7 separate regions of the Homo sapiens genome follow, and all the other regions are linked to region 4. The links are contacts of gene promoters, found by promoter capture Hi-C in blood cells and fetal thymus (Javierre and others, 2016). All regions are on one chromosome and are shown on one strand. Each heading gives the region's core, a stretch centred on a gene start or on the middle of the fragment in contact. The rest is flanking DNA. Distances are from core to core; before and after follow the strand shown. Region 1 overlaps FNDC3B (fibronectin type III domain containing 3B). Region 2 overlaps EIF5A2 (eukaryotic translation initiation factor 5A2). Region 3 holds the start of RPL22L1 (ribosomal protein L22 like 1). Region 4 holds the start of PDCD10 (programmed cell death 10). Region 5 overlaps LOC102724479 (a long non-coding RNA gene). Region 6 holds the start of TNFSF10 (TNF superfamily member 10). Region 7 has its middle 2.4 kb from the start of FNDC3B.

Region 1 (2,700 bases), core at 1-2,500, 4.4 Mb before region 4:
TTTGGTCCCAGCCTATACTAAGAAAGACACAGGCCAAATTCATGAAAAACAACGATTCGCAGAAGAGAACTGCAGCCCCCACCTGCAAAGGGCCAAAGCAATTATATACTAGGAAGAATGTCTAACTTAAAGCCAAAGCCCTAATCACTGCTGGGAGAGTTTTTAAGTCTGTGAAACTGGCCTTCAAATTAACAACAAAATGTCCTGGTCCTCACTCTGAGGGCCAATGACCCAAATTTCCTTACATTAATTCAAGATGTGAGTTAGCAGTACAGTACGCAAATTAATTTCAAATGACAAGAGAAAAAGAAACATAACAGTACCAAAAGGAACAAAGTATACCCATCAGAACCAAACCCACCGGGCCAGCCTGGATGAGAGGAATTGATTCCCTGAGTTTAATTACAAGCCAGGCTGAGGCTCCCAGGCCCACTTCACCAGCACCCTAATGAGACCTCCCACTAACTTTGACTATCCTGGAGCAGTGTTTAAAAAGGTCAGTGGAAAACTGGGCATGGTGGTGCACACCTGTAGTCCCAGCTACTCAGAAGGCTGAGGCAAGATGATGGCTTCAGCCCAGGGAGTTTGAGTCCAGCCTGGGCAACATAGCAAGACCCTGTCTCTTTAAAAAAAAGGTTGATGGAGTAACATAACAAGTAAGTAGAATGTATGTGTTCAGTTTTAACTTTTCACTTCCATACTCCAATTCAAAACCCATCAAATACAAGCACCCATAAAGCAACTTGAAAATAATATCAGAATTCATACCACTATAGTTAACTGTGATTCCAAGTACTCCATAAAGCTAGTCTTTTCCAACACAGATTAACCAATCACCTTCACACACTTTAAACATAACAACATGTAAACATTTTGCTTGCTACATGCTTGTTCTGTAGCCTGAAAAATATATTGTCACAGACACAGTAAAATCAGCTCAATTCGTACTTCATGAAAATTTCCTTCTCTACTAAAAATACCCACTGACCTCTAATAGTGAGAATCTATAGTGGGTCAAGTTTCAGAAAATACAGCAGAGAAACATCCTGGCCATTTGTATAACAGTAATAAAATGCCTGTAATCCCAGCACTTTGGGAGGCCAAGGCAGACAGACTGCTTGAGCTCCGAAGTTCGAGGCCCGTGTGGGCAACATGGCGAAACCCCATCTTTTTTTTTTTTTTTTTTTAAGAAAACAATAATAATGGGGGAAGAAAATTCCTGATTCAGGGGGGTGGGGAAAACTACATGAATACTCAAAATGCAATCTGACTTACTGAATCACAGAAAACACAGCTTTGCTGTATTGTGTTTGGAGAAAGACGGATTTGGGATGTTACTAAGAAATTACTATACTCTACATACTCTTGTAAAACAATAAGATAGCTAATGTTTTATGAGTGATTATAAGACTAGTTTCTAAATGGCTTCCAATATAAAACCTAATAAAAATTTATTATGACAAACATTTGTGCAGCTGATTTACACTGGTTTGTGCCTTGACTGCAGTTAAAAAAATAAACATCTAGAAGTTAAAATTTGATACGGAATCATATACACAGAAAAAAGAAAAGAAAAACTGCATTCATGAACCTCCCCCCATACACCCCGGGTGGCCTTTATGTATAAATGCCATCAGTCACAAGGACAGACAGTTTCCTAAATGTGTACTTCCTAAGTTTTATTATTAGCAAAACTTAGAAAAGAGAGGGAAAGAGAGAGAGCAAAGCAAGGTAGTCAGTTGGGGCACACATTCCTACAACTAATGGAATGTCAAAGTATCATTTACTATTTTATTTTCCTCATTAGAAAAACCTCTTTCCTTCTTGATCAATGCTGGCTTTGAAAGGTTGACTGATGTTTCAAGACCTAGAAACTCTGAAAATAGTTGTCATTTCTAGCCTTTCAGCAAAACCAGAAACTGCTTTTGATAATAACCATGGAAACACCAACAGCATCAACAAAAGGAAAAAAATTTCATTAAAACAAAATAGAAACACAATGTGATCTTCTTTACCTCTGAAATTCTGGGAAAATCTGCTCATCCATCAACACACACCTGACTGTTTTGACCACTTCCCTGCTACTGTGAGAATATGGCTTTTCTTTCTCTTCCCAGTAACACTACACCAATGCCTTGGCATTGGCTCTGCCCATGTGGAATTAGCATGTCGCCATTATGAACCTGATGTGGGACACTGCCATTGGACAGGAGAAACCTAGAGGTTGTTTTAGTGCTTTTCCTTGAGCTAATCGCTCCTGTACACTTCAGGCAAACATTCCCCTTTGCTTTTTAAAAAATCAAATTAAGTAGCACAAAAAAAGGATATGGAGAGGGACTAAGAACTGTTATTAGAATTTTTCACATCCCCTATGCTAAAAAAAACTTTGGAAAAAAAAAAAAAAACTATAGTGGACAGGCTCCAGCACTGAGTATTGGAAAACATGAGTTCTAATCTGGGATTTGTCAATAAAATAATTAGCTCTGAACTTCAGTAATTAATTTCCTCTTATAAAATGACAATATTATAGATTAGCCCTTAAGGTTCCTTTCTGATCTTAAGGGAGTATGTTTCCTCCCTTCAATACCAATTGCTTACCCTGCATACCTAATATTGATTAAACTAAAGCTTAAAAAAAGACACATAAAAAAACTTCTAAAAACCTGTTTCCTTCATTTAAGTACAGCTTGAGCCTTCTGC
Region 2 (2,700 bases), core at 104-2,603, 3.2 Mb before region 4:
TAAAATTAGATGACCTTGGAAGGAGGAGAAAAAGAATCTGTTGTAATCAGCATTGGTATTGTGCTCTTGTGTGTGTAATGAGTGATATACTTGGCAGAGATTAAACAGGTTTCCTGTTCTCCTCTGTTAGGTTCACCTTGTTGGAATTGATATTTTCACGGGCAAAAAATATGAAGATATTTGTCCTTCTACTCACAACATGGATGTTCCAAATATTAAGAGAAATGATTATCAAGTAAGCACTGATTTTCTTTAGAATGTTGCTTGTTTCTTCAAGGTGCAAATACTTTGTACTATCAGTAATAATTTGACAAAACCCAAGAGTAGTTTTGTAGGTTTTTCTAACCAATTATTAGGCACCAGCTATCTTAGAAATTGGAGAAATAGTGATGTTTAACACATGTACTTTTCTAGGATTATTGCTAGTTTGCTATTTTTTTCACATTCTTGCATTTTTTAAAAAGTCAAATACTTATTAGTGTTCTCAGGCCAAGTGACTGCATATTGCAATTAAGTCCAATGTTTAGTAAAAGTACTATTCTCTCTGTTGTAAAATATTTCTTGTTCTAATTTAAAACATCCCTCCTGGATGTTTTGTTTCTTTTCACTGATCAGACCTGAGACATTCAAGAAACTACTGAAATTCATGTTCCTACCAAGTTTTTGCATTAATGAATGTTAGTCAGAACTTGACATTCTTAAGTAGAGAAATAAGTTGAAAGCCATAAATATAAAGGATAAAGTACCTGGTCACTGAGTATGGTGAAGAAAACACAAAAACTATATAATTGGTTAAATTATACTTAGTGACCATGCTATGACCTTTTGCTAAATTATGTATGTAAATTTCAAGTTTTAGTTCCAGTTATACATTTGGGTAGGTCATATTTAATGATAGCATTTTGTTGTTTGAAGTATTGATGATAACAAAATAATTGACCTTATAGGATGTGGAAGCTCAGATTACTTATAACTAAAGCTTTTCTTGAAAGTCTTCAATTTCTGTATCAAGCATACCATATATCAAACTCATTTCTGCTCATTTTACATAGTGAAAAATACAAAGTTGACACTGGTATTTGTTTTATCCGACTTAAACTGATTTTTTTCTGTACCCTTTGTTGTATTGTATAAATTTCTTTTAATGTTGCTATCAACTGCACTTACGCAATGATTTCCTTTTGCTGTTTGTCCACATGCAAACATACTTTTTTGTGGTTTTAATCTAGTAAACACTTTTATATTTTCACTTTCCTACTTGTCATAAATGTTTTCTAGGTTGCTTTGAAGTCTTTGTAGAAATTTGAATTGTCTTGCAAGTGGGTTTTTTTAACCAGGTAGATCTGGGTTTGGATCTAGTTCTGTCACTTTCTAGTTGGATGATTTTGGACAAGTTATACACCTTTCTGAGCCTGTTTTCTCATCTACAAAATAGTGATAATAGGAGGATTAAATGAGAAAATGTACCCCATTAAGAACTCCATAAGTAGATACGTACCAAAAAGTGCTGTTCTGTTTCCCCCTTTTCCTATGTAAAAATTCTACTTAATCATTTCATTATTGTTGGAGCACCAACTTTGATGTGGTACATAGTAGGTGCTCGAAAAATATTTGTTAAATGTATATGTGATTACTGAATGTGGTAGAGATAGTACAGCAGGCTAAAGTTGAGCGTAGAATGTTGTCAAAATTGGGTTTCTCTTTTCGTCTTAAAGTATGAAAGCTTTGACTATTCAATATTAATTATATTCAGTAATATTCATTCAATATAGAATGCTTTTGCCTGTTGCATGTTTCAGAAAGATGGTATCAGCAGTTCAGATAATTACTATTATACTATGATAAGGTTAGCCAGTCATTGATTGGAGCTCAAGACTTAAAGGAAAAATTTGGTTTGGGTCCTAGACTAGGATGAGGCAAATGAAGTGAGGGAGGCTCTTGCCTCAGGCACAAAATTTTAAATAAAGACAGAACTAGTAACAATGACAAGCCATATAGGAGCTCAAGGCGCAAAGAAAATTAATTCTGATCCCATCTTTATTTAGAATTTTGGTATTTTATCATAGGATTTTTGCATTAATTCTAATTTTTTAAAATATTGCATTAAAATGCCTATCTGATCACTGAGGTTTTTTTGGTGCCTTCTTTAATTTTGCACCCAAGACAAGTGTCTTACTTCACCCTTGTCCCAACCCTTGGTATGTACTCCGCACTGCAAAGTGGATAAGAGGATGATTTAAGCCAGGCAGGCCTGGTCCTAGTCTTACTTTGGCACTTAATAGCTGTGTGACCTTGGTTGACAAGTTACTTAACCTGTTTTGCTTCCATTTCTTTCTTTATAAAGCAGAGACATAAATAATAACGCCTCATGGGATCATTTTGAGGTTTAATTAGTTAATACAACAACGCCTGGCATAGAAAGTATTCAGTATTTCTCTGCTCTTCATTTTCAAGTCAGCATAGAAAAATAACTTATTTCTGTTAATTGTTTAAAAAACTAGTTCTCCAACCTGGGCAATGTGGTGAGACGCCATCTTTACAAAATACAGAAAAAAAAAAATTAGCGAGGCATGGTGGTGTACACAGCTGTAGTCCCAGCAGACCCAGAGGCTGAGGTGGGAGGATCACTTGAGCCTTGGGAGGTCAAGGCTGCACTAAGCTGTGATCACTCCACTGCACTCTAGCCTGGGCGACAGAGTG
Region 3 (2,700 bases), core at 56-2,555, 3.1 Mb before region 4:
GGCAGACAACTAAAAAATCTTGTTGAAATGGATTTCTTCTAGGAATTCAGGGCCTCTCTTCAGACTCTACAAGTCATATGCTCTATTAAAGCATAGTTTCCACGATAACTACTTGCTGGCATAAAGGCCACGAACAGTTCTTACTTTCTGGGGTCATTCTTCAAATTAACAACAAAGTCCACCCCATCCCTTACCCCTACCCCTAGGTATGATAATTTCATCTCCACGAAAACATATTACTGCTAAACCCAAGCGGTTCAGCATGCCACTTTTCGGATCTGATGTCAATTTACAATCCTTCAAAGCTCAAAAGCTACTTTTTCCTTTTGTCAGCAAGACACTTCCACCCTCGTGTGTCTTGTACATACTGATAGGTCACAGCAAACATTCATTGAATTTTAACTGGGAGCATTTTGGATGGAAATCAAGAGACCTGGGATTAACTGTAAAACCCATGATAAATTATACCAAACGAATGAACAAGAAGCAAGCACTACGTGTTTTTCCCTTTGAGACAGTCTCACTGTTACCCAGGCTGGAGTGCAGTGGCTCGATCTCGACTCACTGCAACTTCCGCCTCTCAAGGTAAAGCGATGCTCCTGCCTCAGCCTCCCGAGTGGCTGGGAGTACAGACGCGCACCACCACGCGGGCCATTTTTTTTAAAATTGTTTGTAGAGACGGGTTCTCCCTATGCCTACGCTGCCAAGGGTGGTCTCGAACTCCTGGGCTCAAGAGATTCTCCGGCCTCGGCCTCCCAAAGTGCTGGGATTACAGGCGTGGGCGTGTAAGCATATATATACATGATTTTTTTTTCCCGAGGACCTGGTCCCCGAAGCACCAATTTCCCTCAACAGTCATTTAGAAAACGAGGCTCACAGACAAAACACAAACAAATAACTTTTTCGCTGGAGGATTATAACTGCAATAAAAGGAGATCCCAAAGCAACCTGAGACACTGCCTTGCCCTGATTGGAAAGGGGATTCCGGTGATTAGTGAAAGATGACTCCTGCATCCCTCGCGTGCGTCCGTATCCGGGAGCAGCCACTAGGTAACTGTAGAGGCCACTGCAATTAATCGGCTTGAACAGCCAGGAGCGGAAACCCGAGAGTCAGTTCAACCACAGCCACCCGCGTGTGCCCGCGGAAAGCCGATGGCCTACTCTCGTCCGGCAGCGCACTGGTTTCCTGGGTTACCGGCCTCAGCGCTCCTCCCGCTTTCTTTTCCGGGAGGCGACAATCTGACGCTCTCAGCGCGTGACGCAGCACGCTTTGATATAAATGCAGACCGCGCGGCCGTAGCTTCCTCTCTGCTCTCGCGGCCGACTCGCAAGATGGCGCCGGTGAGTGAGCGATGTCTTGGTGGGAGTGTTGTGTGGCAATTTAATGATTTCCGCTGTAACGATTTTTGCATCTGTCGAGTGGAGACGTCTCAGTCAAGATAAAGGGAGGGGAGTAGTGAAGTCTGGGTCAGAAACACAACCAAGACGCGAGGATCCTGAACTGTTTTTCGAGACTCCCTGGCAGCTGCCATGAGGTCTAGTGGAGTTGGAGCTGGGCCCGGAATTGGTTTAGGATGGGTGGTTTTGGACACGCGGGAAAGAGGGAGGCACAACTGTAAATGGGCCGGTGGTACTGCAATCTGAGCCATTTCTTTACTATCTCGCGCCTGATAATGCTTTTGCCACTCAGCACTGGGTAGGGGAATGGTGGGTAATCGGGCCGGTCTGACGACCTTTGCCAGGCCAGAGGGAGCTCCTAGGCGCTCAGCTCCCGCGATGGCCGACATCACAAGTTTTTGAGAACTTTCAGTTGGGGAAGAAGTTTCTCGGTGAAGTAATTTTTAGAAAAGTATAAGTCTAGATTCCAGCAATGTGAAATAAACGTGCTTCAGATGTTTTACTTAAGTCATTAGTAAGGGAACCAGTAAGATGTTAAAATGTTCCTAAGAATATCTGAAAAGCTAGATATACATGCGCAATTTACAAATAAAGTTAGGATAAAATTGCTGGGCTAGCTACAAAACTGGGTAATGCCCAGCATGGCCATAAACCCTATAGGGTTATCTGTTCCATTAGACAGAAGTTGTTTGTGTCTCCCAAATTAACTTCTGCGCCAACTGGGTAATTATCTTTTGGCACATGTTACCATGCTACCTGAGAAAGCAAACTAATGTGTAATACTTGGTAGCCACTTGGGTGAATCTAAATTGGAGGTTATAGTCTGATAAATACAGATTTGTTTGTTCATATTGCAGTGAATGTACATGGTTGCTGGCCACAGTAACATTTTGCTTATGTAGCCATATTATATGGTCTTGGTATAAAAGGTTTGGATATGGAAAATTTAAGTTCCACGGTGTTGGTTTTTAGGTTTTTTTTTTTTTTTGAGACAGAGTCTGTTGCCCAGGTGGGAGTATAGTGGCATGATCAGGCTCACTACAACCTCCGCCTCCCGGGTTCAAGCAATCCTCCCGACTCAGCCTCCTGAATAGCTAGGATTATAAGCATGCACCACCACACCTGGCTAATTTTTGTATTTTTACTAGAGATGGGGTTTCACCATGTTGGCCAGGCTGGCCTTGAACTCCTGACCTCACGTGATCCTCCTGCCTCAGCCTCCCAAAGTGCTGGGACGGCACCTTGCCTTTTTTATTTTTATTTTTTCTTTTTCTTTTCTTTTCTTTTTTTTTTTTTTTACCA
Region 4 (2,700 bases), core at 173-2,672:
GCAATTCTAGGAAACTGCAAAATAACCACCCTGGATAACAGGTCGGTAGCAGGACAATCTGATAAACCAACGTAAAGGGTAGACACTGAAGAAGAATGCAAAGTTATTTTCCTAGTGAAATAGTTCAGAAGTTATTCTATATCAATAGCAAAATTTTTGCTTTTTATAGGCTACGCACCTATAACATCCACCAGATAACATCCACCTCGTCCTCAATTAGCAGGATTTTTCTCAATCTTCAGATCTCCCAGAACAGTTTTACTGGTGCAACTCAAACCAAAAACACTAACCACGCCCTTTATACCCAGAGTCAAGCTTCCTTTTGCTTTTTTGCCCTTAAAGTCGAAAAATGTAAATCTTTCACCCGAGAGGTTTTGCACCGGTTTCCTAACCCAACGCGGACTCTTTTAGCTGTGTCTTGATGTAATTCCTATTGGAAGACGTTTTCTCCAGGGCAGTGCAGACGCCCCGAAGAAGGACCCACGCTTACCTCCCACACACCTGCAACCCCTGACGGGATGCTGGAGCTTGTGCTCGGCGGACTGTGCTCCGCTCCGCTCTCGTTCCTGCTTTCGTCTCTCCCGGGAAACTACAGTCCAGACTGCGCCTCTGGCTTCTACAGGGACCCAAGCTCCGCCTCTCCCTCCTCTAGTTGGCGAATTTGGCAGCTGTTGCTCCTCCCCCTGCTGTTTCTGCAGCTGCCCGGACCGGAGGCAGCGGAAAGCAGCTGCCCTGGTACCTTTCCGCTCCCTGCACTTCTGCAGCTGCTCTGCCACTTCCACTCCCGTGGGGGTCCCTCTCCCCTCCTCTGTGGCTCACACCTGGAGCGGCCTCCTGCCCCACCCAGGCGTCTCTGCTGGGAGCCCCGGCTCAGCCTATCCTTCCCCGACCTGTGTGTCCGGATGCCCGGTGTGCCTGGGGCTTAGCTGCTCTCAGGGAAGCTGCCCCTCTGCCCAGTGCAAGTCCCCACACCAAGCCCTCCCTTCACCTGGGCGATTTCCCCGAGGCTTCCTCTCCACCCACACGGCATACTCAGCCCGACAGCCCCAGGATCCCCACCACAGGCCCCTCACCCCCTTCCTTCCTCTGCTCTGTCAGCCCGCCCCCTCAATGGGTGAGGCGCCTGCGGGGCCTACTCCGCACCCTGATTGGCGCAGGTGAGGGCTTGCCCCGCCCTTCCTCTCCTTTCCGTGCACCATCTCTCTTCATCTCACCTCCTCCCGCAAAGGCAGGGAATTCTCCTACTATTGGCTAGAAGTGTCACCACCCATCGCCTCAGGATCCCCCGCATGGCCTGCCGGGAAGTGTAGTCTTCCGATTGCAGGAATTGCGGACAACGCCGGCGAGCGGGACTACGAGTCCCCATAAGCCTCTGCACGACTCCGGCTGGGCAGGATTCCGGACAACGCCTGGTTCCTCTTGGGTCCTTCCGGCGTCGCCGGAGTGAATTGATCCGGGAGTTGAAGAGGGCTGCAAGGTGGGAAGTGAAGTCAGTGCCTCAGTTGCTGGTAAGGTGTAGCTGTTCTGTCCCAGTCCCCGTAGCTCTGCACCGAGCAGAAGAGGTCTAGGGTCACGCAGGGGCCATGGCTGAGGCACTTGGGCTTGGTTCTGGCAGGCGGAGCGGACGGGGCTGAGAGCGGGGCCCTACGGGCGTAAGCGAGGTTACCCTACGCGAGTGGCGTAAAGCGGGTTTGTAAATGCCGCCTGCCGGCTTGGGCCCGAACGCCTCCAGGAAGTCTCCTCTAGGTGGGGGCGGGAGGGGAAGGGCGAGGTTGGCCCCTGGTGCCCCGGGAGAGGGGACAGGGCGGATGTGCCTGGGGTGGGGTCCTTTGAAGGTGTGGCTTCGGACCGAGAGGTGAGGCTGCTGTTTTCCCCCTGCTTTGTAAGTAAGAGAAAAGGGAGGAGGAAGGAAAGGGTGCTTGGGAGTCGGCTCTTGGGGGTGACTCGGGTTATGCCCTTTGAGGGAAGAGGAGCACTGGAAGAAGGAAGAGACAAATGTTGGGGTCTACGGATTCAGTTCCAGTTTAATGATGTGGCCCTCTAAGGAGATAATTTTGCCTTAAACAGAAAGACTTGACCCTCTTAGGTGTCATACCTAAGGTATGTTTTTACTCCTTTACTGCTTTCAGAGCGCTTTCATTTTGGGATGCTGATGAGGAAACCGAGGGATTATATGACGTGCCCAAGGTCACACACGTAGGGACAGACTTTCTGAATCTAGTTCGGTTCGAGTCCAGCTTTAGAGTAGGGACGTTGGTTGTGCTTTTTGAAAAGGGTGGAGGAAGTTACAAAGTAAATGTATTTTATATAGTATATCTAAGAAGCCATTGTGAGATAAAAAGTTGTTTCTTGAACCGGAGTGAAATTCCTCAATAAAGGAAAGATCCTTTTGGAAAAAATAAAAATGGCCAGTTTCAACTTTTACAGATTTTTCCCCTTTTTTTAGGGGTGTATTAAATGATAGACTCTACTCTCACAGTTCATTTTTACGGGTAGGTAATAGGATGGGAGAACAACAGTTAAACAATATATCCCATCCTTAGAAGAATATTCTTTTCTTTTTCTACCTTAGGACTGTTTTTACTCTCATTTTGTAAAACTGATAATAGTGGGATTGGAATTCTTTCACAAAACTACACTTTTTTCAAATAATGTAGCGTTAGGAGAGTTTAGTGTGCCCATTACTAGAAAAGAAGGTAT
Region 5 (2,700 bases), core at 146-2,645, 3.7 Mb before region 4:
TAAATGCCTTGGACTAGGTAATTTATAAACAACAGAAACAGAATTGCTCACAGTTCTGCGGCCGGAAAGTCCAAGATCAAGATATCAGCGGATTTGAAGTCTGCTGAGGGCTCCTTTCTCACAGATGGCCCCTTCTATGCATCTTCATGTGGTGGAAGGGCGAACAGGCTCCCTCAAGCTTCTTTTCTCAGGGCACTAATCCAGTTCATGAAGGATCTGCCCTCATGATCTAATCACCTCTTAAAGGTTCCACCTCTTAATACTATCACTATGGGGGTTAGGTTTCAACACATAAATTTTGGGAGACACAAACATTCAGATAGAACAAATGCTTAGAAAAATATCTGCAGCATAGTATTACTTATTATTCAAATTTTCTATTCATTTTTATAAAGAGGGTCTCCCTCTGTCGCCCAGGCTGGAGTGCAGTGGCTTATCTTGGCTTGCTGCAGCCTCAACCTCCCGGACTCAAGCAATTCTTCCACCTCAGCCACCCTAGTAGCTGGGATTGCAGGGGTGTACCACTATGCCCACCTAATTTTTGTATTTTTTGTAGAGATGGGGTTCTACCAAGTTGCCCAGGCGGGTCTCGAACTCCTGGACTCAAACTATCCTCCCAACCTGTCCTCCCAAAATGTTGGCATCACAGGTGTGAGCCACCACCGTGCCTGGCAGAAATCTTTAGCAAAAAAATTAGGTATCATTGTTGGAGTCTCCTTTTCCTCTTCCTCTTTTCTCATTATCCTGAAGTTAATCTGTATCCTTACTGCCTGTATCCATGCTTTATATAGTTTACTACATATTTATACATATGTAAACAGCATAGTGTATTATTCGGCAGGTTTTCAAACTGCACATAAATGGTGTCAGTTCTCTTAATCCTTCAGATTACATCAAGAAAAAAATCTCAAGTCTTGAATGTTTTTCCTGGTATTTGCTATTCTCTCTTTTAACAAACTAAGAGTAGGCCTTAGGCTAGAAGCCCAGAGCAGGAATTGATGGCTAGCTAGAATTTAATAATACTTCTTTATTTTCCATTATATTTATTTTAATGGTTTCCTCCCCCCTTTTTTTTTCAAAGCAAGTGTTGTTGGCTTTCCATTTAGAGTAGTGATTTATGTTTTCTTTTATATTAAGTGTAAGAAAAAAGTGTTGATTTAAAGAAAAATGTTAAGTAAGTGGTAAAATAGTACAGGCAATACAGAGACATAGGAAAAAATTAGGAAATTTATACTGGAATAGCTGAAATTTGATACACACTTGACCAAAAGGAAAAAGTTCAAGTTCCTCCTTCTCACCTTCCTTTACCAGTTGGAGGTCCCTTTGATACTGCAATCTCTCCTTTTATGGTATTTCCTGCAGCCCACACCCCTGCCTTCCCCTGGCTGTCTCATCAACTTCTCAGGCTCTTAGGAAGCCCTCCTCCATTTAGCACCTGGCATCATACTGCATCTATAACTTTCTCATCTAAAACTAAACTAAATCTGAATGCCAACTTGGCACCCTCGTGGCCCAAACAGCTCACTAATGTCAAAAAAGTTGATCTGTTTGTGATGTTTCAAATATAATCATGAGTATAAAACGAAGGCTTTCCATGGAAAAAATATTTAACTCATATTTCCTTATGTTTGCAGTTTTAAAAAAATAGTTGTTTATAGATCTTAATACTTGATCTTAAATTATCTTCTTTCAACCCTGAGACAATACATTAACCTGTTGTCTAGATGAACGGTAAAAAAACAGGAACACAGAAGAGAAAAAAACAAAGACAATGATGGGAAATAATCTGTTTTTTTTTTTTCATTTCGACGTGGTGGCTTACTGCACGTTACTTACTATGTCGAACCAGATGATTTTAGTAAAAAATGAGTTTAGTAATTTAGTATAACACGTTCAAATGTTTACATACAACGTTTACAGGCAAAAGCTACCAAACTGTTGTGGCCATTGAGATGTTGGAACAATTTTCAAGTTTCATGGTGCATGATCCACAATGCATATGAATACATACAATATCAGTAACAAAAACAGTACAATGTACACCAAAGGTTGTTTCAAAGTCCTCTAATGTCTGCAGTCATGATGAACTAACTGCACTGGCTTTCATTCATTCATTCATAAGACTTATTTTGAAGCTGATCTTCATACTGCATGATTAAGAAACCATCAGTGCAGTGGTCAGAATTACATTCTGCTGTTAACAGAGGAGCAAAGAATGCTTTCAAAGCTACTGCTGTATTTGGAAAAAAGTTCAGTTTTAGTGTTTTCTTTCTAGGTATTTTGCATGGCTAAGGCGGGAGAAGAAGGGCTGCGCGGGGATTGGGGGAAGCGACTTCCCACTCTTGATTACAGAAGGAGAATCATGTATACCACTGTAAAACATCCAACCTTTAAATGAGAAAGTGAGTGAAGTGAAATCGCTCTCACGTACACATCTTCCGCGTTACTTCTTATCCGCCAGCCAAACTTTCTCCATCAATCTGGGTAGGTCTGCCACGAAAACGCAGCCTGAAAGAAATGCTGAGTCCTGAGGCGGCGTGTGTTGCCTCACCCAGTGTTGGCTTTGGAGTTACCTGAAGCCTTCTAGCTACTGCACCCAGAGAGCAAGCTTCTCGTTTCAACTCGGTTGTTTCCGTGGGGAATTGCGGCACGAGCAAGTCCTGGGTGTGGCGATGCCAAGAGAGCGCTCAGATCTCCCAT
Region 6 (2,700 bases), core at 199-2,698, 4.8 Mb before region 4:
AACTTTAGGTTTCAAAGGATCTCTTGGAGTACTTGCTGAAAAATGTAGGTTCCTAAGTCCACTGCCAGAAACTCTGACTCAGTGGGTCAAGAATGGAATAACTAAACAATGGCCCCATGCAGTGGTTCATGCCTGTAATCCCAGCACGTTGGGAGGTTGAAGCAAGAGGATCACTTGAGGTCAGGAGTTCGAGACCAGCCTGGCCTACATGGTAAAACCCCATCTCTACTAAAAATACAAAAAAATTAGCTGGGCATGGTGGCATGCACCTGTAATCCCAGCTACTTGGGAGGCTGAGGCAGGAGAATTGCTTGAATCTGGGAGGTGGAGGTTGTAGTGGGCCGAGATTGTGCCATTGCACCACTGCACTCCAGCCTGGGCGATAAAGTGAGATTCTGTCAAAAAAATAAATAAATACATGAAAGAGAGAAAGAAAGAAAGAAAGAAAGAAAGAAAGAAAGAAAGAAAGAAAGAAAGAAAGAAGGAAAGAAGGAAAGAATAGAAAAGAAAAGAAAGAAAGAAAGAAAGGAAGAAAAGGAAAGAAAGAAATGCTGAATAAGATATAGAGACAACATACAGCTGGGCCAGCTTATGACATCTGATAGTGGGGAGATTTGGGGCTGGGTCCTGAATCTGAGGGTAATTAACTCCCTGTAACTTCTTTTCCTAATCTGTAAAAGGATAGTGACAGCGAGACATTGTGATGGGGTTAATATTTTGGAAAACATCCACATGTTTTTTTCCTTTGCCTTTCTGAGTGTGTCAACTACTTCCTACCTGTCCAGCCTAACACACAGGCATGTTGTCTTGGTAGGGATGGAGATCTGAGAAGGAGATTAGAATTTGTGTCTGAAGGTTTGCAAAGAGGAAGAAGTCGTCAATATTTAGATTCTGACATTCAAGATGGAATTATGTAGCAAGACCATTGCTATGAGACAGTATTTCTATTTTCCTTTATCCACTCCCACCCTGCCCTCTTCCCACCCTCACAGTAGCATGAGAAAAACCACATATGGAAGTTTCAGGTCATAAAAATTATCTTATAATTTAGAAAACAGGCCTTGTGCCTATGACAGCCAGGCCATGAGGCTTAGAGCTCTGTGGTAGAATGAGGATATGTTAGGGAAAAGCAAAGAAAATCCCTCCCCTCTTTGGCTGAGGACATTATCAAAAGGAGAGCAAGAAAGAGAAGAGAGAAATGGGCTTGAGGTGAGTGCAGATAAGGGGTGCATGGATCCTGAGGGCAAGGAGAGGAGCTTCTTTCAGTTTCCCTCCTTTCCAACGACTACTTTGAGACAAGAGCTGTCCCTGGGCAGTAGGAAAGGGGAGGGACAGTTGCAGGTTCAATAGATGTGGGTGGGGCCAAGGCCACAGAACCCAGAAAAACAACTCATTCGCTTTCATTTCCTCACTGACTATAAAAGAATAGAGAAGGAAGGGCTTCAGTGACCGGCTGCCTGGCTGACTTACAGCAGTCAGACTCTGACAGGATCATGGCTATGATGGAGGTCCAGGGGGGACCCAGCCTGGGACAGACCTGCGTGCTGATCGTGATCTTCACAGTGCTCCTGCAGTCTCTCTGTGTGGCTGTAACTTACGTGTACTTTACCAACGAGCTGAAGCAGGTCAGTGCAGTGCAGTGCACTCAGTCTTCGAGGCGCTTAGCAAATGTCTGGTTACCTGCTTCTTTGCATGTCAGCTTGCCCCTCTCTGAAGACTTTCCTGCTTCCTTTCTCTGTGGGTACACTCTAACTGCTAAATCACATAACAACTGAGGTCTTTGCAAAACTGTAAGTTCAAGAAATTGTGTAAACTAAGTGCAGTTACACAACTGGCTTCACTAGTTACTAGCAGATGTGGGCAACAAAACTCCTGAGGGATTTTTTGTTTTTAAAAGTATGTGTATTTTATAATATCAGCCATTGCAACTCTTCATGAAAGCTTTCTGCTAAATGCTTTGTAGTTCTTTTGTTTTCCTTTTCCAAACTTTTATTTGTGCACATTCAATTGAAAAAGATAATTTTTACAGGTTCTTTGGTGCCCATTTTCAGCATACAAAAATGTAAAAGACTATTCACAGATAAAACACATTAGCTCAAAATGGAAAAAAATAACAATGACAACAATAAAACAACCTAAGGTAGTGCACACTGTGACAGCTCTGCTTATGGGGACATGAGAATTCCTGCGAAAATAAATAGAATGTCCTTTTGTAAAAGCAGCAATGACATGTCTTGTAAACTTCCTTTTTTATATTATAACAAGGTTTGGAATAAAATCCAAAGGGACTGGAGCTTACACTGTAGCCATGAATAAATAAAAGAGTCTATTTCCTCAATTACCGTTGGTTCAGTTTTCCTTTTGAGTCCAATGTGCAGCAGGTTTTAAAAGGTGCACAGTAAGAGATTCTAACCAATTAAGTGGTGAATGATAAAATTTCTTTCCTGCTTTCAAACACAAATGGGTAAATCTGTTCCACAGCAGTAGCAACAGCCTTTAAATAGGGCCTTGTTACTGTGATACTTCCTGTCGAAAAAATCTGTAATGTAGCTCTTAGAGTCTTTATCCAATAGCACACAGCAGGATGAAGTTCAGATTCATAACTCACATGAGGTCTATTGCTCTTTGTGAATTCTGGCAAACAGATTTCTTTATTTTTAAATTTTTTTATTTTACTTTAAGTTCTGGGATACGTGTACA
Region 7 (2,700 bases), core at 107-2,606, 4.3 Mb before region 4:
GTTAACCTAAAAAATAATAATAGCAGTACATAATACTCTGTTAAAGTCTAAAGAACACTAAGAAATAGCTCCTTCCTTCCCTTGTTCATTTGCCATTCTTTTGGGGAGATTTTAGCCTTTTTTTTTTTTTTTTGGAGGCAATGGTGAGTCCAGAGAAATGGGGACCTCTCTCCTAAATGGCTTATTTACTGTGGAGCTCCTCAAAGGGGAACTTGAAGCCATCTTTCTATAACATAACTCCAATTCTAGGTCATAGTCCTGCATGAGAAGCCGGGGCGGGGGGTAGGCAGTAGTTCCTTAGTGCCAATAGGGTACAATCCAATAGATCCCATTTGAGTCCAAATGCCTTCTCTGGCTCCAGACTCTTTGGCTTCCTCAGGTGCCATGCCTTCAGCCCAGCTGATCACTCATGGCTCCAGAAGGTACCTGTGTCCCTTTGTACGTGCCTTCCCTCTGAAACATACTTCTTCTTCCCTATTTAAGATCATTTACTCATCCTTGATCTCCGGCTAAAACCACTCCCTCCTTTCCTCCCTACAGTCTCATACCTCTTTTCCCCACAATCTTATAATCCTTGTCAGTTCTCACATTGCTCTGAAGTTAGTCTTTTTTTTTTTTTTTTTTTTCTGAGGCTAGAGTGCAGTAGCATGATCGTAGCTCACTGCGTCTTCAAGCTCCTAGGCTCAAGCGAGTCTCCCACCTCAGCCTCCCAAGTAGCTGGGACTACTAGTGTGTGCCATCACGCCTGGCTAATTTTTTTTTAATGTTTCTTTTTTTTTTTTCATTTTTGTTGCCCAGGCTGGTCTCAGACTCCTGAGCTCAAGCAATCCTCCTGCCCCAGCTCCCAAAGTGCTGGGGTTATAGGCATGAGCCACTGTGCCCAGCCTGAAGTTAGTTATACTTTATCTCTTCCACTTGACTGAGTTTTGTTCATGTTTGTATCCCTAGTATCAACCTAGAATTCTGCTTTGAATATAAGACCCCTTTGTGTTTGGTGAATGAATTAATTGTAAAGTATGTGGAAGAATCTGAATGACTAGGTAAGTGAGCAAACTTCAGAATGTGAAAGGTCAAATTCAGGTTGAAGGACAAGCTTGGCAAAGGAGGTAAAAGTAGGCAAGGGAAGTTTGGAGGACAAAGTTATTTATTCCTGTTTCTTCCACTAGACTGAATTTTTTCTTATTAAGAAGAAAAAGTTTCAATTTTCATATAATGCTTTATAATTTCACATGCATGTTCATATATATGATCTCAGTGTTTCATTCATCTTCTTTGCCCTAACACCTAACACCAGTTTTGGCACAGAAAAAAAGCCCATTAAATGTTTGCAAAATGAGAGGAAGTATGGTACACTGGAGAGAGCATAGAACATAATGAGAGAAAAGGAGTGATGTTGGGCATAAAGTTCTCTGAACCTGAATTTTCTTATTTGTTAAATTGTGATCTTTAATAAACCTTCTGGTCAAGGTTGTTGTGAGGATTAAAAAACTCAAGCACCTGGTACTCAGTAAATAAATATTGGTTACTCCTTGAATGAATGAATGAATGAATGAATGAGTAAATGAATTAATAAAGATATATTTCTTAAAAGGATTAATAGGACAGAATTGGAAGCTTCAGAGAAAAAGGTGGAATTTGTGATAGAGGGCTCTCACCTATACTTTGAGGGATTTAGATTTAATACAGTGAGAACACTGTGGGATTATTGAGGCATGAAGTAATTAAAATAGGTTTCAAGGTTATCTTAGCAGCAGGATATAGAACAAGGCTCATGTCAGAGATGCATGCCCTGAACCTACTTTGGAAATGATAAGACTTACACCAGAGTCATGGTTCTGGGAATAGGAAGAAGGACCTCAACCTAAGGCAATGAGTATGACTATCTGGTGTTGACAACCTGCATAATCTGCTGCTCTAGGTCCCAAATTATGAAACTATAGTCCTGGCTAAAACTTTGCTCCAAAAGCACCTTAAGATTTGCTCAAATACAAAAGTTAACATCCAAATGAAGATGCCTAGAAGTTAAGGCCTATAACAAAATATAGAGACTCTTAAACCCTTCTACCACCTATGCAATGTAGGCTGAGTCCAAATTTTAAAAAGATTCTTAGTCATACTTCTTCATCTCAAATAATTTATATCAAAAAATGCAACAGTAGTACACAGGAAAGAATGAAAGTATTGAAGCTAGCATTGAAAAGGTCTCAAACAATTCAACTTTTCTGAACACTTCTGTAGTCTAAAATGTTTAAATTTGAAACTCTCTCTCAAAGATCACTATGACTAGTAACACGTAATATCTACAAGACCCAGCTGCATTCTCAGTTTCAATGTCCTTCTTCTCCCTATAGCTCGAGTTGCTAGGTTCCCAAGGCAGGCTCAGTTCTGCCCCTACTCTTAAAAACTGCTCTTGACCACCAGGCATGGTGGCTCATGCCTGTAATCTCAGCACTTTGGGAGGCTGAGGCAGGCGGATCACCTGAGGTCAGGAGTTCGAGATTAGCCTGGCCAGCATGGTGAAACACAATCTCTACTTAAAAAAAAAAAAAAATACAAAAATTAGCCTGGTATGATGGCAGACACCTGTAATCCCAGCTATTTGGGAGGCTGAGGCAGGAGAATCATTTGAGCCCAGGAGGCAGAGGTTGCAGTGAGCTGAGATGGCACCATTGCACTCCAGCCTGGGCAACAAGAGCAAAC

Evidence for each region. Contacts are between HindIII fragments. The CHiCAGO score rates a contact against its expected background, and 5 or more counts as called.
Region 1: a fragment that was not itself captured here is called in contact with the fragment with the promoter of PDCD10 in region 4 in 1 of 17 cell types (total CD8 T cells); the score reaches 9.1 in total CD8 T cells.
Region 2: a fragment that was not itself captured here is called in contact with the fragment with the promoter of PDCD10 in region 4 in 7 of 17 cell types (total CD8 T cells, fetal thymus, total CD4 T cells and 4 more); the score reaches 16.3 in total CD8 T cells.
Region 3: the fragment with the promoter of RPL22L1 here is called in contact with the fragment with the promoter of PDCD10 in region 4 in 6 of 17 cell types (non-activated CD4 T cells, total CD4 T cells, total B cells and 3 more); the score reaches 8.9 in non-activated CD4 T cells.
Region 5: a fragment that was not itself captured here is called in contact with the fragment with the promoter of PDCD10 in region 4 in 1 of 17 cell types (total CD4 T cells); the score reaches 5.1 in total CD4 T cells.
Region 6: a contact is called between the fragment with the promoter of TNFSF10 here and the fragment with the promoter of PDCD10 in region 4, in 2 of 17 cell types (naive CD8 T cells and non-activated CD4 T cells). The highest score is 8.0, in naive CD8 T cells.
Region 7: a fragment that was not itself captured here is called in contact with the fragment with the promoter of PDCD10 in region 4 in 2 of 17 cell types (naive CD4 T cells and total CD4 T cells); the score reaches 5.8 in naive CD4 T cells.

The regions. Positions count from the first base shown.
Region 1 is chr3:172,104,107-172,106,806 of GRCh38, reverse strand. The region is part of intron 1 of FNDC3B (fibronectin type III domain containing 3B); the gene reads right to left. Among named protein-coding and RNA genes, the nearest start is that of FNDC3B, 66 kb to the right of the region's middle. The HindIII fragment of the contact is 2,760 bases long and covers 1-2,630 here.
Region 2 is chr3:170,904,524-170,907,223 of GRCh38, reverse strand. It overlaps EIF5A2 (eukaryotic translation initiation factor 5A2), which reads left to right. Exons shown (of 5, transcript NM_020390.6): 3 at 131-235. Among named protein-coding and RNA genes, the nearest start is that of EIF5A2, 2.8 kb to the left of the region's middle. The HindIII fragment of the contact is 744 bases long and covers 982-1,725 here.
Region 3 is chr3:170,868,800-170,871,499 of GRCh38, reverse strand. RPL22L1 (ribosomal protein L22 like 1) reads left to right here and starts at 1,305. Exons shown (of 4, transcript NM_001099645.2): 1 at 1,305-1,341. The coding sequence starts at 1,333. RefSeq lists enhancers at 141-866, 867-1,593, 1,763-1,812. The HindIII fragment of the contact is 15,380 bases long and covers 1-2,700 here.
Region 4 is chr3:167,733,614-167,736,313 of GRCh38, reverse strand. It overlaps PDCD10 (programmed cell death 10), which reads left to right and starts at 1,422. Exons shown (of 9, transcript NM_007217.4): 1 at 1,422-1,652; 2 at 1,964-2,100. SERPINI1 (serpin family I member 1) reads right to left here and starts at 593. Exons shown (of 9, transcript NM_001122752.2): 1 at 491-593. RefSeq lists an enhancer at 1,171-1,610 and a silencer at 1,661-1,790. The HindIII fragment of the contact is 6,113 bases long and covers 318-2,700 here.
Region 5 is chr3:171,461,089-171,463,788 of GRCh38, reverse strand. The region is part of intron 1 of LOC102724479 (a long non-coding RNA gene); the gene reads right to left. Among named protein-coding and RNA genes, the nearest start is that of TNIK, 2.0 kb to the right of the region's middle. RefSeq lists an enhancer at 2,183-2,683. The HindIII fragment of the contact is 2,430 bases long and covers 181-2,610 here.
Region 6 is chr3:172,522,178-172,524,877 of GRCh38, reverse strand. TNFSF10 (TNF superfamily member 10) reads left to right here and starts at 1,448. Exons shown (of 5, transcript NM_003810.4): 1 at 1,448-1,625. The coding sequence starts at 1,494. It also overlaps the pseudogene TBPL1P1. RefSeq lists an enhancer at 1,467-1,516. The HindIII fragment of the contact is 8,260 bases long and covers 1-1,943 here.
Region 7 is chr3:172,035,876-172,038,575 of GRCh38, reverse strand. No RefSeq gene overlaps it. Among named protein-coding and RNA genes, the nearest start is that of FNDC3B, 2.4 kb to the left of the region's middle. RefSeq lists an enhancer at 2,242-2,301. The HindIII fragment of the contact is 521 bases long and covers 1,096-1,616 here.